Regions from separate parts of the Homo sapiens genome. Here region 2 is linked to region 1. The links are contacts of gene promoters, found by promoter capture Hi-C in human tissues and cell types (Jung and others, 2019). All regions are on one chromosome and are shown on one strand. Each heading gives the region's core, a stretch centred on a gene start or on the middle of the fragment in contact. The rest is flanking DNA. Distances are from core to core; before and after follow the strand shown.

Region 1 (7,526 bases), core at 1,276-3,775:
TCCTCATGAAAGGTAAATGAGTCGGCAAGTGTAAAAGGCCTAGGGCAGTGCCTGGCATTAGTGCATGCTCAAGTAAGGCAGTTTTTTCTTCCTTCCTAAGCTTCTACCTTCCACATGTGTAATCTAGGAGAGGGAAATCTCAGATTCACAGGAGGCAAAGACCTTTATAGGGTGGGTTGTAGTCCCCCTGTCCACCCAGATGATCACCATTGTGTTGGTCAGCATGGAATCTGACCAAGCTAGTTGTTTGGAATGAGTGGCCTTAGGCGTAAGTGGTCACAGGATTGGAGGAAGGCAAATTCATGGACAGAAAAGAGAGAAGGAGGTCAAGGTAGGTATTCCCCCTCCTCCAAACCATCTCAAATTGTCCTGCCAATCCAGCCCCCTCCTCTCTTGGAATTGGATAATCTTAAAAAAAAAAAAAAAAAAAGGGCAGAAAGAACACGTATTTACAGGACTGCCTGGCTGACACTGGGCTACGTGACTGGGTGTACATTGTCTAGTTTGATACTCACCAAGCCATAGGTTACAGAGGATAAAGCTAGTGTCCCAGGTGGGGTGGTCAGTTGTCTCAAATCACTCAGGTATTGAGGAGCGAATCTTGCGTTCAAACCTAGGTATCCACAATTTCGGGCCAGTGTTCTGTTGCCTTATGTTCTCTCTACTCCCTCTAGTGCTGACCTTTGTCTGGGAGAATGCAGGGAGGGGGTGCACTCAGGCAGGGGATGCTGCCAAGGAAATACTTGTGTGAGTGTGGATGGCTTCAGTCAGGTCCTCTCTGCTCCTGGTGGGGGTGGAGATGGGGAAACCTGGGGGTGGGAGACTCCACAGTGTACAAGCTCCCCTATCCCCCATCCTAAGCACATGGTGGGGAGGGTCTCCATTCCTAGGCAGGCCTTCTTTTCAATCCCTGGACTCTGCACCGTTCCATCATTTCATGCTCCCTCAGCAAAAACCTAAGGTGGAGAGAAGAGGTCTCATAAACACTTTAAGCCTCCGCATTTGTAACCCTCCCCCAGCCAGTCAAGCCAGCTGTGCAGACTCTGAGCCAGAGTGAGGGAACCAAACAGCCTTCTCAACCAACACCCCTCTAAGTAACAAAGAGGAGAACCCCCTACCCAGTCAGGGCCAGACGCCCTAGGGAGGAGACACTAGTCCAAGTCTCCATCGTCTATCCCTGGAGCCCATACTGAAACTTAAGAAAGAAAAGCTAGCAGCTGGGGACCCCAGGAGGGAGGGGGTCAACTCTCTACTCCAGGCGGCTCCCCTCCCTTCCCTCCTCCTGGCTAATAGGTATTTCCTGTTTATGAGGCAGCTAAAGCTGAGCTTTTGGGAAGGGATGGAGATGGAGCCCCTCCCCTCCTAGGGCTGGGTTGGGGAGTCCTTGAAGTGTGACTGAAGGTTGGGAGGCTCCTCCCAGGGGAAGGAGTGTTCCTTACATTGACCATCCACATCATCTCCCATCCAACCCCCCACGGCCCACAGCCTCTGCCTCTCTGGGTTAGGGGGCACTGGAGGGGCCTGTTTCCTGTTCTCATCTCCGAAGCCCTCAAAGGACAGCAGCTTCCAGGCAGGGGGGTCGGAGGCGGTGGGGTTGGGCGGTTGGTACGGAGGTGAAGGCACCAAGGCTGGAGAAAGGGGGGAAGGGAAGAGAGTGTCTTGACTGATGCGTCAGTCTGCAAGAAGGAAGGATGGCCTCCTATCGCCCCTCCGTAATCCAATCTGGTGGTCATTCCGCAGCCCCCTCCCCCCAGCAAAACACAGATCCCAAGCCCTTAGGCGGAGGAGGGCGGGGACCCCACTTAATTAACCCTTTTAGTTCTAGTCCCAACTGGTTTCGCAGGCAAAGGAGGAGTGGTTAATTTAGGGAAGGGGTGAGTTGAGGGGTTGCTACAAGAATTAAGAGAATGCTTCTTTACCCATCCAGCCTAGGGTAGGGACGCGAAACAAGGGGCCTCCAGAAGAAGGCTGGCGTCTCAGCAGGGAGCACGGACAGGGGGTCTGCAGTCCCTTTTCCCTCCCGGAGCGCGGCCCGGGGTGGAGAGAGATACACCACACTGCCCACCCCGGCTCCGCCTCCCCCAGCCGCGGCTCCCGCTCCGGCTCAGCCAGACTCCCCATCCGGCGGCACCCGGAGGACGGACACCGAGCGCGCGGCTGCGCCTCCAAGCCCTCCCCTTCGCCCTCCCTCTCTGGGGTCTCTGCCTCCGTCTCCTTTTTTAAAAGCTGCGTCACATGCATGCCGTTCCCCGAGCGCTCCCAGCCCCTCGCCGCCCGCCCGCCGCGCGGCGCACGCACGTCGTCGCTTGCTGCGCGCTCTCCCGGGTCACTTTGACACGGCTCTCCCCTCCCACTAGCAGGACAATTAGCATATTAATAAAGCCCGGCCCTGCCCGGCTTGGGCTGGGGAGCCGGCGCCGGCGCGAGGGAGCGCGAGCGCGAGGGCGGAGAGGGGGGCGCTCGGCGACGGCGGCGGGAGCGCACAGACACGCACACGCACACGCGCACACACGCACACACGGACACACACTCCGCGGACTCACACCCGCGCGCACACACGCAGAGGCCGCTCGCCTTCCTGCCTGGCTTCCTTCCTGTCTGCTCCGCGCCTGACAGGCCCCTCGCCGCAGCCAGGGGCCGCCCGCACCGGGCCGAGGCCGGGCCGGGCCGGCGGCGAGCGCAGCGGGGGCCGCGGGCGGCGGCGGCGGCTCATGCCCGGCCTGTCCCCGCGAGGGGCGGGCACCGTGACTCGGCTGGGCCCCCAGAGGCGGGCGATGTGAAGATGTCAGTGGGCTGTGCCTGTCCTGGTGAGTGGGGCGTGCGGCCACTCGGCCCCTTCCTGCCCAGCCGTCCCTGCGGACCCCTCACCCCGTGTTTGGCGAGAACTTGTGTGGGGGGCGTCGATGGCATGGGGGAAGCCGGGGGCTGGAAGGGCTACGCGGGGCCTCAGGCTGGCGGGTAGCGTTTTCCCCAACTGTGTAAATGCGCAGCAGCCCAGAAACACGGGGAGGAGACGCTGGGGGTGGCTTATGTGTATGTTTTTTTGGGGGTAGGCTAATTGGGGAGAGGTTTGGGGGGGGCTGAAATTCTCAGAATTCCAGGTTGTTAGCCAATCAGAAGTGACTCTGGACTTTTGACCCCCCCCCTCAGGTCACCATAGAGTTGTGATTGGCTGGTTTGGGCTGCCCCCCCTTCCCTGCTGCCCATTGCCTCTTACCTATCCTGTGACATCCCCCCCATGCTGTTTCTGAGGACCCTGTTTGCAGGGAGGTATTGATTGCGGCCCATCTTGCCCCCCACCTTCAACTTTTCCTGCCTGTTGCCAGGGAAGGTTGGCCCTCCTGAGGCACCGGAGGTACTCCTAAGAGGTGCCAGATAATTGGACCCTTGGGTCTGGCATCTCCGCCCTAGTGGGAGGGCAGGCTAGGAAATAGAGTGATTTGTGGAGAGGTAAGCTGGGGGAGCAATACTTGACCCAAAACTGAGAACTTGAGAGAGGACCCAGGCTCAGATCCCTGCCTCCCCAAAACATATCAGCTCTTGCCAGGGATAGCCTAGGTCTGAGTTTTTTTCCTGGGGGGCAGGTGGGGGGGGCGGAGGGCGTCTACCTCACTGCCAGGAGGAAAGAGAGAAGCCATGCGACTGGAGAGGTAGTCTACAGAGGGCCTCACGGCACACTGTCTGTCTCCATCCCCGGGACTCTGGGTCCTGGAATTGGCCCTCCTGCCCCAGACTGGAGTCAGCTTTCTCCTGGAAGTCAGTGTCCCTGAATGTAGCCCGCTTTGGCTACATACTTCACAGCTGGACACCCACCACTCCCCCACAAATCCCCAAGGGAAGCTGCCAGTGCGGAAGCTTCCTTGAAAATCATGTGACCCAGGCCAAGCTGGGCTGGGCACACACTTCAGGTGCCTGCTGAGGCTGATGTCTAAGGGGCATGGGTCCCAGAAGGAGGAATAAGAGAACCTAACAATCCTAGAATATCCGAGTATGGGAACCACTGGCTCCTGCTGCAGAGGGTTGGGGAGAGGAGAGGGAAGAGCTTGCCAAGCTGGAATCCTGTCTGGCCCCGTCGTCCCTCTTTCTACCAGCTTGGTGTACATGTTTATGTTGTGGATTTTCTCCTTTATAATTGACCCATGCTGGGTACCCCTTTCAGATCCATCATGTTCTTAGCCCACCCCAGGGCCCTGACCCTCCATCAACACACATGAGCAGAGCAGTTAAACTAAGGATCTGAACAAGCTAGAGGGATGAGTCTTAAATTGTGATTCTTAGTTCCTACAAATAGTGGGTAAGCGGGTATGTATGTATGGAGGGGTTGTCAGGCTGGAGGTGGATGGGAGGTTGGCCCTGAAGTTGGGGCAGGGTGCCTGGGTCCAGTGGGAGGAGAGAGAAAATCTCTTCTTCTTAGTCTCTGGGAGCAGCATGGGAACAGGAAGAGGGCCCAAGCCCAGGGGTTTGTGGGTGGGTGGGAAGACAACTTCAGTCAATGCCCCAGAAGGCATGTTCCTTTTGTGTCTGGTGGTCTGACTGAGGGAGAGAGGGCAAAAGATAGGGAAGAGTGGGGAGTCTTTTTCCAGATCATGAAGAAGTCTTATAGATTGATGCCAAAGAGGGTGGATGGAGGTTAGACTTCAAGGAGAACCACATGGGGAGGGCTTCAGAGTAGACTGGAGGTGGGGAATAGTAGCAGTTGAGGTTAGAGAGGGGACCTGGCTTGCAGCTTGCTTGGATGGGGGAGCACATGCTTGAACACAAGGAAGGCATGGCAGCATGTAGCAGTCCAGGCCCAAAGATTTCCCCCACCTTGAGCAGCCCTGGGGTGAGGGCTGAGGCGCCCTGGCAGGCCGCCTGCCGCCTGCCTGCCTGCCTGTCTGAGTCTCTCCTTTGTGTTCTGCTGTCTCCGGGCTCCTCCTCCTCCCCCAGCCCGGCAGAGACAGCACATGCCCCACACATGTGACTGAGGGAAGCCAGAGCGCACACAGACCCACACACATGCACACGCAGAAGCACCACAAGATACACACATACACATGCCCAACACCCATATTGCTCCTGGGGTGAGGACCAGCTTCTGGGGCTGGAATGGCTGGGAGCAGGGAGAGCCTCTGACTAAGGGGCATCACCCTGAGCAAGAGGCTGAGGGGGCCAGGGCCTGTCTGGGGCAGCATGTGGCTCAGAAGGGTTAAGGCAGGGAGGAGTAGGGGGAGGGGAGGAGGCAGCAGTGGTGGCGGCTGGGAGCCAGGAGAGGAGGATGGCAGAGCGCCAGGCCAACGGGAGGCCGGGCACAGACAAAGGAAGGGGGGCAGGCACACTGGAGGCCTGGGTCAGGGAGCCCCAGGGGCCCGGGCAGGGGGCAGTGCTGGTACCTCATCCTGTGGGCTGGGGCTGGCTGCTGTCCTTTGAGTCCCCACCTCCAGGAGGAGTACTTTCCCTCATCATCTTTGTCATTATTTGCTGCTCCCTCCACCTCACCACCAATTCTAAGGCCTTCTAACTCAGACTTGCTCTTTTTAGCTGGACCTGTTCTGCCCCTGTGCAACTGGGTAAATCTGGTCAGAGCAGAGAAAGGAGCAGACTTGCTAGAGAATAACTAGAAGGCCTGTTTTGAATGGTTTGCCAGTCGATACATCTTGGCATTTAGGGGCCCCTCCACCCCACAGCGAGACTGGAGGGCCCTTGTAGTCCCTCCTGTCTGAGGAGACAGGGTGGGTGTGGGGTTCTGAGCTCTGGGCTGGAGGCAAAAGCCAGAGCACATTTCCCCCTCCCCATGAGGACAGTGATTTGAGGCCTGGAGGGGGAAGGGAGTAGGAATGGCTGCAGGGCTTGGCTTGTATCTGGTGGGTTTAGAAGTGCAGGGTTCAACCCCCCCACCCCCCAGCCCACCCTGGTCATCCTGTCTCAGTGGGTTCTGTTAGGATCTCACTGTTAGGATATTTGGCCCTATGTGCTATGAGGATCTCTTGAGGTACTGCCTGTGAATGCACTTTGGAAAGTTTAAAGGCAGTGGGGGAGAAGTGGGACTACCCCAGAGTTAAGCTGTAAATTTGGGAGTCAGTGGGAGTGTCTTAAGTCCTGGTGATAGGCTGTATGTTGCAGGGTCTGGCTGAATGTTATAGATTTCAGTATGTTTGTGAAAGCTGGGGTTTATTCTATGGCCAGGCTGTGATGAGGAATGGTACGCAGGCTTCAGAGAGGGTGATTTATAGGTTAAGTCCTTGCATAATAAATGATCGGGGTGTGTATGTGATAGGCTGTCACAGGTTTAGGGGTTATAACACAGTTTTGGTGTGTGTATTGAGGTCAGGATGCGTGTCATAGGTCCCAGTGTGTATGACTTAGACTGTGTGTGTGTGTATATATCCAGGATTTGGGTATATTTAGGATTTGAGATATATCACAGGTTGATGGCCAGACGCGGTGGCTCACATCTGTAATACTAGCACTTTGGGAGGCCAAGGTGGGTGGATCACCTGAGGTCAGGCGTTCGAGACCAGCCTGGCCAACATAGTGAAACCTGTCTCTACTAAAAATACAAAAATTAGCTGGGTGTGGTGGCATGCACCTGTAATCTCAGCTACTCAGGAGGCTGAGGCAGGAGAATCGCTTGAACCCAGGAGCTGGAGGTTGCAGTGAGCCGAGATCGCGCCACTGCACTCCAGCCTAAGCAACAGAGCGAGACTCCGTCTTGGAAAAAAGATATATCACAGGTTGAAATGTGTATCAGGTAGTGATTTATGTGAAAGTGAGATGTGTTATTTATGTGGAAGATGTTCACAGAGCCAGGTGCAATATTACTGCACAGTTAACTAGTGAGTATGTCATAAGAAATCCTGTCCTTGGAGTTATGTGTGAATATAGTTGGGGGTAGGAGACAGGAAGTAGAGAAACAGACACTCAAATTGCAAAGAAGGAAATAGAAGGTTCGTGCTCCCCCTTCCCGTGTGTGTGTGTGTGTTTGTGTGTGTGTGTGTGTACTATGTATTTTCCTTTTCCTATTTGTCCACGAGTAAGGTCTGGCCCACTACCCAAGTTTTAGAAATATTCCCTCCTGCTACAACAAAATTACCTTAGGAAAAAAAATAGAAATATCTGCTCCCTTGGGATGCCCTGCTGGATGGGAGAACAGGTCCTATCCACTAACCACACGTTTTTTTTTCTGGGGTGGTGGGGAGGATTCAGCAGCAAACTAAGCTCCTTCTGGGGACCCTTGGATGGCCAAGTTGGCTTTCCCTAGCTCTGACAATGCCTCTTTCCCTGGCACCCACTTGTCTTCAGTGGTGGTGGGGAAGGGGGCTTCCTGTTAAGGGGGATCTAAGTCAAGGCTTGGAATTTAGCTGGGTTGGGGGCAGGGAAGCCTGGAGTGTCCCCCTTCCTCCAATCAGTGTTTACAGTCTGATGTCAGAATGTGTGTCTGTCAAAAATAACCCCCTGGAGCCTCTCCCCCCAGCTGCTCCAGGATTTCACCAGGGGAGCCCAGGCTGGCAGTCCGGGCCAGCCTTCAACCTGAGCGATCACAGGGG
Region 2 (7,526 bases), core at 2,766-5,265, 110 kb after region 1:
CACAGGTGGGCAGCATGTTCATAGCAGATGCCCATGAGAAAATCTCAGTACAGTAAGTGCCTGACATTCTTGTGCAGTGACTTGGACTTTAGTGTGGGCTGTCCTGCTGGATATGAGAGTGTGCAGTGTTACCTCTTGCTAATCTTTTACAGAATCATACTTTTTTGGTGATTTTCAAATGTTTCATGGGTTTTGAACATTAATGGACCCTTAGAAATTTCTGCTTTTCATATGTATTGAGCGACAATAAGCTGAACAACTGTTGCCAGACTATCTCTGCAATGAAACAAAAGAGGGATGGGTGTCTGAGCCAGTTGAGGACTTAACTGGGTTGAGGTGGAAAAACAGAGGGAAGATAATGAAGTAGATGAGAACTGGTCCTAAGGAATTAAAGTGAAGGCCCTGACTCCTGCCTATACACTTTTGCATACGCCCAAATGGCAAGTAAAGGGGAACTTTAGAAATGCAAAGGAATTGATAATGAGGCGCTGGGGTGCAATCCAATCTTATCTTCATGGTTATACTGTTTTAACTCCCCCCACTATAAAAACTGCTCCAATTTGTTCTCTTTTTCTTTAGAACCAATGAGGCCATTCTTCTGGCACTTTATGAAGCTGTTCATTTAAATCGCAACTTCATCACAGTATTAGCTCAGGTTGGTCACATTAAAAATCCCAGTGTTTTTTTCTCTCTAAATTTCATACCGATTAATTCCATTGAAAAGCCTATCTGGCTGTACTTGTTTAAACCCTGCTTTGCATTGGTAAGTGGTAGTAACAAGGAGTTGAATCAGTTGCCTTTGTTTCCTGCTGTCCTCAAATATGTATGTTTCCATTGGTGCTGAAATGGGTCTAATAACGTGCAAAGTTAGTTTTTTTGGCCAATTTATTGATCCTGTTAACCCAAATGAATTGTCATGACTTCATTTTGCTCACTAGAAATCCCTGGTATTATCCGCTATGTGGATTTTTATATTGGGCTTTCTGCTTTCCACACCACTGTGGAATTACAACTGGAGATAAAATAGGCCAAGCCACTCACCTTATTATCTCACCAATTTCCAGAGGAAAAAAGTAAAAAATATCCTGGCCAGGTTAAGGTTAGCTGTTAACAGATAACGTGGTTTACATACATTGAAAGGAAGTCATAGAATACTGAGCGCTGGGCCCTGCGCTGTGGCTCACGCCTGTAATCCCAGCACTTTGGGAGGCTGAGGTGGGCGGATCACAAGGTCAGGAGATCAAGACCATCCTGGCTAACACGGTGAAACCCTGTCTCTTCTAAAAATAAAAAAAAAATTAAAAAAAAAATAGCTGGGCGTGGTGGCGGACGCCTGTAGTCCCAGCTACTTGGGAGGCTGAGGCAGGAGAATGACGTGAACCCAGGAGGCAGAGCTTGCAGTGAGCCGAAGTCGCGCCATTGCACTCCAGCCTGGGTGACAGAGTGAGACTCTGTCTCAAAAAAAAATAAAATAAAAACAAAACATAACAAAATAAAACAAAATAAAAAAACAAACAAAAATACCCCCAGAATACTGAGCGATGGGTCACATGCCTGAGGGATAGCCACAGTAATTGGCATAGAAGAGGACTAAAGTAGACCAAGAACTCAAGAGCTGTCCATGAAAGCCATTTTAAAAAATTGATAAAGTGTTATTATCTTAAAGCCAGACTGTTTAAAATATGTATGTAGGGTTATTTTAAGGGAAAGTTTGCTTATGCTTTTTCTCAAAGGGTAGATGTATATGGAATCTATTGATTTGAATTTTAACACAAAAATAAGGTCATGCTTAAAAAGCATCATGCTGGTTTGAGATCTGCTTCATAGAACACTTAAGAGTTTTCATGACTGATAACATAGAGACTTTAGTTATTATTTTCACTCGTTTCTTATCTGCTCTCCAAATCCTATAACTGATTGTAAAGGAAGAGGTGAGGAAGGTAAAGTGCTGGTAAAGCTGTTAGGGAAGAAAAGGGAAGTTAAAAACAGCTATCACTCAGCTTAATTCTCAAGAGCTGATGTGGGAGGGATGGCTAAGAAAGGTTAGGGACAGAAGAGTCATCTGTTTTGGTCCCTACTGGGTGTCTCACCATGTCTTTGCCTCCCAATGAAGGCACACACACTTTTGTTTGTTGTGGAACAGGAAGGCCGCCATCTGAATAGCTCTTTTGCTTTTTTTTTTTTTTTTTTTTTTTGGAGATGGTGTCTCGCTCTGTCACCCAGGCTGGAGTGCAGTGGCACGATCTCTGCTCACTGCAAGCTCTGCCTCCCGGGTTCACGCCATTCTCCTGCCTCAGCCTCCCGAGTAGCTGGGACTACAGGTGCCTGCCACCACACCTGGCTAATTTTTTTTTTTTTTTTTTTTTTTTTTTAGTAGAGACAGAGTTTCACTGTGTTAGCCAGGATGGTCTTGATCCCCTGACCTCGTGGTCCATCTGCCTCGGCCTCCCAAAAGTGCTGGGATTACTGGTGTGAGCCACCGCACCCGGCTGAATAGCTCTTTTTATAGTACCTGGTATCCCCTTGACTCATCTACATCTGCTAGTCAATTATTTGGTTATCAGAACAGCCTATTGATGTGTTTTAGGTTGATCTGATGAGATCCCAGGTCTGGATGGGATTGCAAATGTTCTCTGCTCTCTTGTAGAATAATCCTGTATATTTGTTGACCCCAGTTTTTTTTTTTTTTTTTAAATGTCTGTGGTGCCACAGAAAAACTTATGTAATGGGAACCTAGTTGCTTAAGATAAATTAGCACACAGAGCTTATTAGAGATTAGCAAGCATCAGTCGTAATCAAGTACTCATGAGAACGAAATACAGAAGTAGTCCCTTCTCAGCTTTTTTTTTCTTTTTTTTTTTTTTTTTTTGAGATAGAGTCTTGCTGTGTCACCAGGCTGGAGTGCAGTGGCGTGATATCACCTCACTGCAACCTCCGCCTCCTGGGTTCAAGTGATTCTCCTGCCTCAGCCTTCCAAGTAGTTGGGACTACAGGCATGCACCACCATGCCTGGCTAATTTTTTGTATTTTAGTAGAGACGGGGTTTCACCGTGTTGGCCAGGATGGTCTCGATCTCCTGACCTTGTGATCTGCCCAGGCCTCCCTAAGTGCTGGGATTATGGGTGTGATCCACTGTGCCCAGCCTCAGTGAGCTTTCTAATTATGAGACTAGGGGCACAGTGGCATGCATCTGTAGTCCTACGTACACAGGAGGCTGAGGCAGGAGAGTGCTTGAGCCTAGGATTTCGAGACCAGCTTGGACAACATAGCAAGATGCTGTCTCAAAAAAAAAAAATTATAAGGTCCAGAATACCAGTCCTTATTGGTATTAGGCACTTGATACTCAGGGAGAACTGGATTTTCTGTTTTCTTACACATCTGTGTATCTTTTTCAGAGCCATCCAGAAATGGGCTTGGTGACGACCCCTGTCAGTCCTGCTCCTACAACCCCAGTCACACCACTTGGGACCACACCGCCTTCCTCTGATGGTGAGCCCACCACCACTTTGTTTTTCTTGGTTAATATGATCTTAGATCTCTCAGAGTGAGCATAGCTGTGTTCAACAAAGAACCTACGTAGTTGTTAATTTTTCCCACTAAATTGGTCTGTAGTACTATCCTTCAGGCCTCCTAAATTTCCAAAGAAAACTTTGGAAAAAGACAGTCCAGTGATTTTCTCTGTAAAAGAAGCTTACATAACTCTAGCTTTTCCTCCTCAGGGAGTAGTTGTAGAGGCATGGAGTGCTAGACCTGCAAGGTCAGTAATGCCTGTCCTGCCACACTCTCAGAGTCCTTGTGAGGCTCAGATGAGATATTTTGTGAAAAATGTCACCTTGTGATTATAAAGCACTGAAATGAATGTAAAATAGTAATGTTATCTGATGTTACCATTTGATCAATGAGGGAATTAAGGCCAGAGAAATGAAGCAGTTTGCCTAAGATTAGTGAGAGTAGAGACTGAGAACCCAAACATGTAAGCAGGATCTTGTCTATTTTGTTTACTACTAAATGCCTAGCATAGTGCCCAGCATGGTACTTGCTTAATAAATATTTGTTGAATAAATGAATGAGAATGTGAACCTGGCACTCACTCACTGTTATGTGTCTATCAGCCACTCCCAGTTGGAAAGGACAGGCTTTGAGTGTATTATAATTGGGAGTTTGGTGGATACGTAAGATTTATCTCCCTCAAGACAACAACGGTGAAAATTTCCCCTTCATAAATCTTATGGCTGGAACCTAAGAAAAAGGCAACAGAAAAGAAATTATGAATTTTTGCCAAAAATTTTGAGGTCTATTATAGGCTGAGTGTGTTTGGTGGAATATTGTAACCTAAAAACAATCTATGTTAATATTTGATGTTGTAGCTCAAAGATTGACCTTGTTTTGGTAAAGAAGTACAGACAATCCAACTTTGATACTTTCTTTTTGCCTCCCCACTGTTTGTACGTGAAATGACCTTCTTTATTCTTTCTCTCCTTTAAGTTTTCATATACCACCCGTGGCAGTAACATTTCCAGGCAGTATAAACAGTACAGAACTATGACAGGGAGGTGCCATTGTTAGTTATATATATGGTAGCAAATTGGATCTGTTTAGAATTGAAAGCCAAATCCCAAAATATCTTTTTTTTTTTTTTTTTTTTTTTGAGACAGAGTCTTGCTGTCATTTAGGCTAGAGTGTGGTAGTGTGATCTCGGCTCACTGCAACCTCTGCCTCCCAGATTCAGGCGATTCTCATGCCTCAGCCTTCTGAGTAGCTGAGATTACAGGCATGTACCACAATGCCCGGCTAATTTTTGTATGTTTATTTTTATTTATTTATTTGTTTTTGAGACGGAGTCTCGCACTGTTGCCTAGGCTGGAGTGCAGGGGTGCGATCTCAGCTCACCGCAACCTCCACCTCCCAGGTTCAAGTGATTCTCCTGCCTCAGCCTCCCTGGGACTACAGGTGTGTGCCACCATGCCCGGCTAATTTTTTGTATTTTTAGTAGAGATGGGGTTTCACAGTGTTAGCCAGGATGATCTCGATCTCCTGACCTCGTGATCCGCCTGCCTCGGCCTCCCAAAGTGCTGGGATTACAGGCGTGAGCCACCACGCCTGGCCAATTTTTGTATTTTTAGTAGAGATGGGGTTTCACTGTATTGGCCAGGCTGGTCCCGAACTCCTGACCTCAGGTGATCCGCCTGCCTCGGGCTCCCAAAGTGCTGGGATTACACCCATGAGCCACCATGCCCAGCCCCAAAATATCTTACTGAGAAGGAGCAAGTAGTAAGGATTGCCTACTTGTCTCTGTTTATTCAGGCCACAGAATAACCCAATGGAAATACAGTACTTTCTCTTTAAGAATGAACCCTGCCTGGTTACCATGGATATCAAAAGCCATATATATATATATGAGTTCCATGTGATGTTGGGGTTTGGATGCTTCAGAGAACTGCCTTTCAAACTGTTCATTGTGAACACTTCCACCCACACACTTGATTATGCAATGGTAGGATTTGTGCTTACTTACCTACAACCAGTGAGCTTTTATTTTTTCTAGTGGGAAGATCAAGTCAGCCCACTTTCAAATGACTGTCTCCCTTGACAAAAGCTGCTGGGAAGAATTATGAAGCCAAAGATCAAGGAATGACTCTTCCTTAGGAAGAAGATTTTAATTTGTGAGGGATTTTATTCTGTCTCTGTTCTATTTGTTCTTTTCCCTGTCTCCTAACTCATTTCCTTCTGTAGGGTTCCTAAGTATTACAACCTTGTTTTTAATTTTTAGATCTTAATTATAGTGGTGTTCAGTAGCCCACTTATATTTAAAGGTATGTCACCAGAGCCATATTTTTAAAAGCCGGCAGTTTAGCTATAACATTTGTTCTCAGCTCAGACTTGACATTTGACAACTCAGCCTTGGCATGAGAGGACTTTCTGGTAAACTAAAAATACATATACTTCTATATTTCTACATATTATATAAGATAGTTTTCCAGTTATTGCTGTGTATGAGCAGGAAAAAAGCCCCACTTACCAGTTAGGTGCCTCCTTGTATTGGACAAAGGGATGATTACGGGTTCTGAGCTTCAAAACAGGCTGTGGTTTGAAATGACAGTCTTGGGTCATTAACCCATAACATGAATTAAAACCTTTTAGTATTTCAACATAAAAATATATTTGTCTTATATTAGCTCTTGGAGGCCTAACTGGGAAAATAGCCAGGGGTTGGGCATGCTGATTTCTTTTCATAAGGCTTTTTGTTGTGCTTGCTGTTTATTATGGGTTCATAAAATGCAAATGTTTCTCACTGTTCATAAATGTTCTCTGCATATGTCGTAATAACTCCAGAGGGATCTGTTATGGTTATGAATACATATTATGAGTAATATCCCAAAGTCAACTGAGTCTTCATGGCTGAAAATGTAGCAGAAAGCCATAGATTCTCTAGCTTTTTTGGGCCATTATAAGACTCCTTTTAACTTATATATTGTGTCTTAGGCAGTGTAAAAGCACTTAACAAGAGGTCTGAGTCTAATTTAAAGTCTTAGAATTTTGGGAAGCCTACATTAAGACTTTGTTCTGGGCCAGGCACAGTGGCTCATGCCTTAATCCCAACACTTTGGGAGGCCCGAGGTGGGTGGATTGCTTGAGGTCAGGAGTTCAAGACCAGCCTGGCCAACATGGTGAAACCCTGTTTCTACTAAAATACAAAAATTAGCTGGGCATGGTGGTGGGTGCCTGTAATCCAAGCTATTTGGGAGGCGGAGGCAGGAGAATTGCTTGAACCCAGGAGACGGAGGTTGCAGTGAGCTGAGATGGCACCACTGCACTCTAGCCTGGGCAACAGAGCGAGACTCTGTCTCAAAAAAAAAGAAAATACTGTGTTCTGTGGTCAGCCCTGGTCATTAGAGGCCAATTATCTGTCATTGTTCATTGGGACTGTGGCTCAGAGAACTGGGTGGGGGATTTCTCTTAGAAACATCAGCTAGGTATGTAAAACTCAGTTCCCAGGCTGTTCCAATCAGTAATGTTCATCTGTTTTTATTTATTTATTTATTTATTTATTTATTTATTTATTTATTTGTGACAGAGTCTCGCTGTGTCACCCAGGCTGGAGTGCAGTGGCGCCATCTCGGCTCACTACAACCTCCGCCTCCCGGTTTCAAGCAATTCTCCTGCCTCAGCTTCCCTAGTAGGTGGGATTATAGGCACCGACCACCATGCCCAGCTAATTTTTGTATTTTTAGTAGAGATGGGGTTTCACCATGTTGGCCAGGCTGACCTCGAACTCCTGACCTTAGGTGATGTGCCCAACTCGGGCTCCCAAAGTGCTGGGATTACAGGCGTGAGCCACTGCGCTTGACCTGTTCATCTGTTTTCAGTCTACTATTACTTTCAGTTCCCTTAAGCGGGGAAGGGAAGTCTGCCACTTAATAGTGGTAGAATTTGAATATAGTTCTGCCTTAACATTTTCCCCTCTCTATCATGGGTACGTCCAGCCTAAAGACTTGTTCTCAAAATTCAGCAAGATTTCTCCTTGT

The links. Contacts are between HindIII fragments. The study calls those that stand out against the background at their distance.
Region 2: a contact is called between a fragment that was not itself captured here and the fragment with the promoter of LDB1 in region 1, in 4 of the 25 tissues and cell types used here (IMR-90 fibroblasts, heart left ventricle, lymphoblastoid cells and 1 more).

The regions. Positions count from the first base shown.
Region 1 is chr10:102,115,367-102,122,892 of GRCh38, reverse strand. It overlaps LDB1 (LIM domain binding 1), which reads left to right and starts at 2,525. Exons shown (of 11, transcript NM_001113407.3): 1 at 2,525-2,807. The coding sequence starts at 2,783. It also overlaps a transcript of PPRC1 not described here. RefSeq lists enhancers at 386-1,135, 1,136-1,887, 1,888-2,639, 4,345-5,046, 5,047-5,749 and silencers at 2,136-2,265, 2,286-2,585, 2,646-2,725, 2,816-2,885, 5,219-5,458. The HindIII fragment of the contact is 10,982 bases long and covers 1-7,526 here.
Region 2 is chr10:102,002,503-102,010,028 of GRCh38, reverse strand. ARMH3 (armadillo like helical domain containing 3) reads left to right here. Exons shown (of 26, transcript NM_024541.3): 12 at 6-52; 13 at 580-655; 14 at 3,396-3,489. Among named protein-coding and RNA genes, the nearest start is that of ARMH3, 50 kb to the left of the region's middle. RefSeq lists an enhancer at 113-182 and a silencer at 5,454-5,503. The HindIII fragment of the contact is 7,966 bases long and covers 33-7,526 here.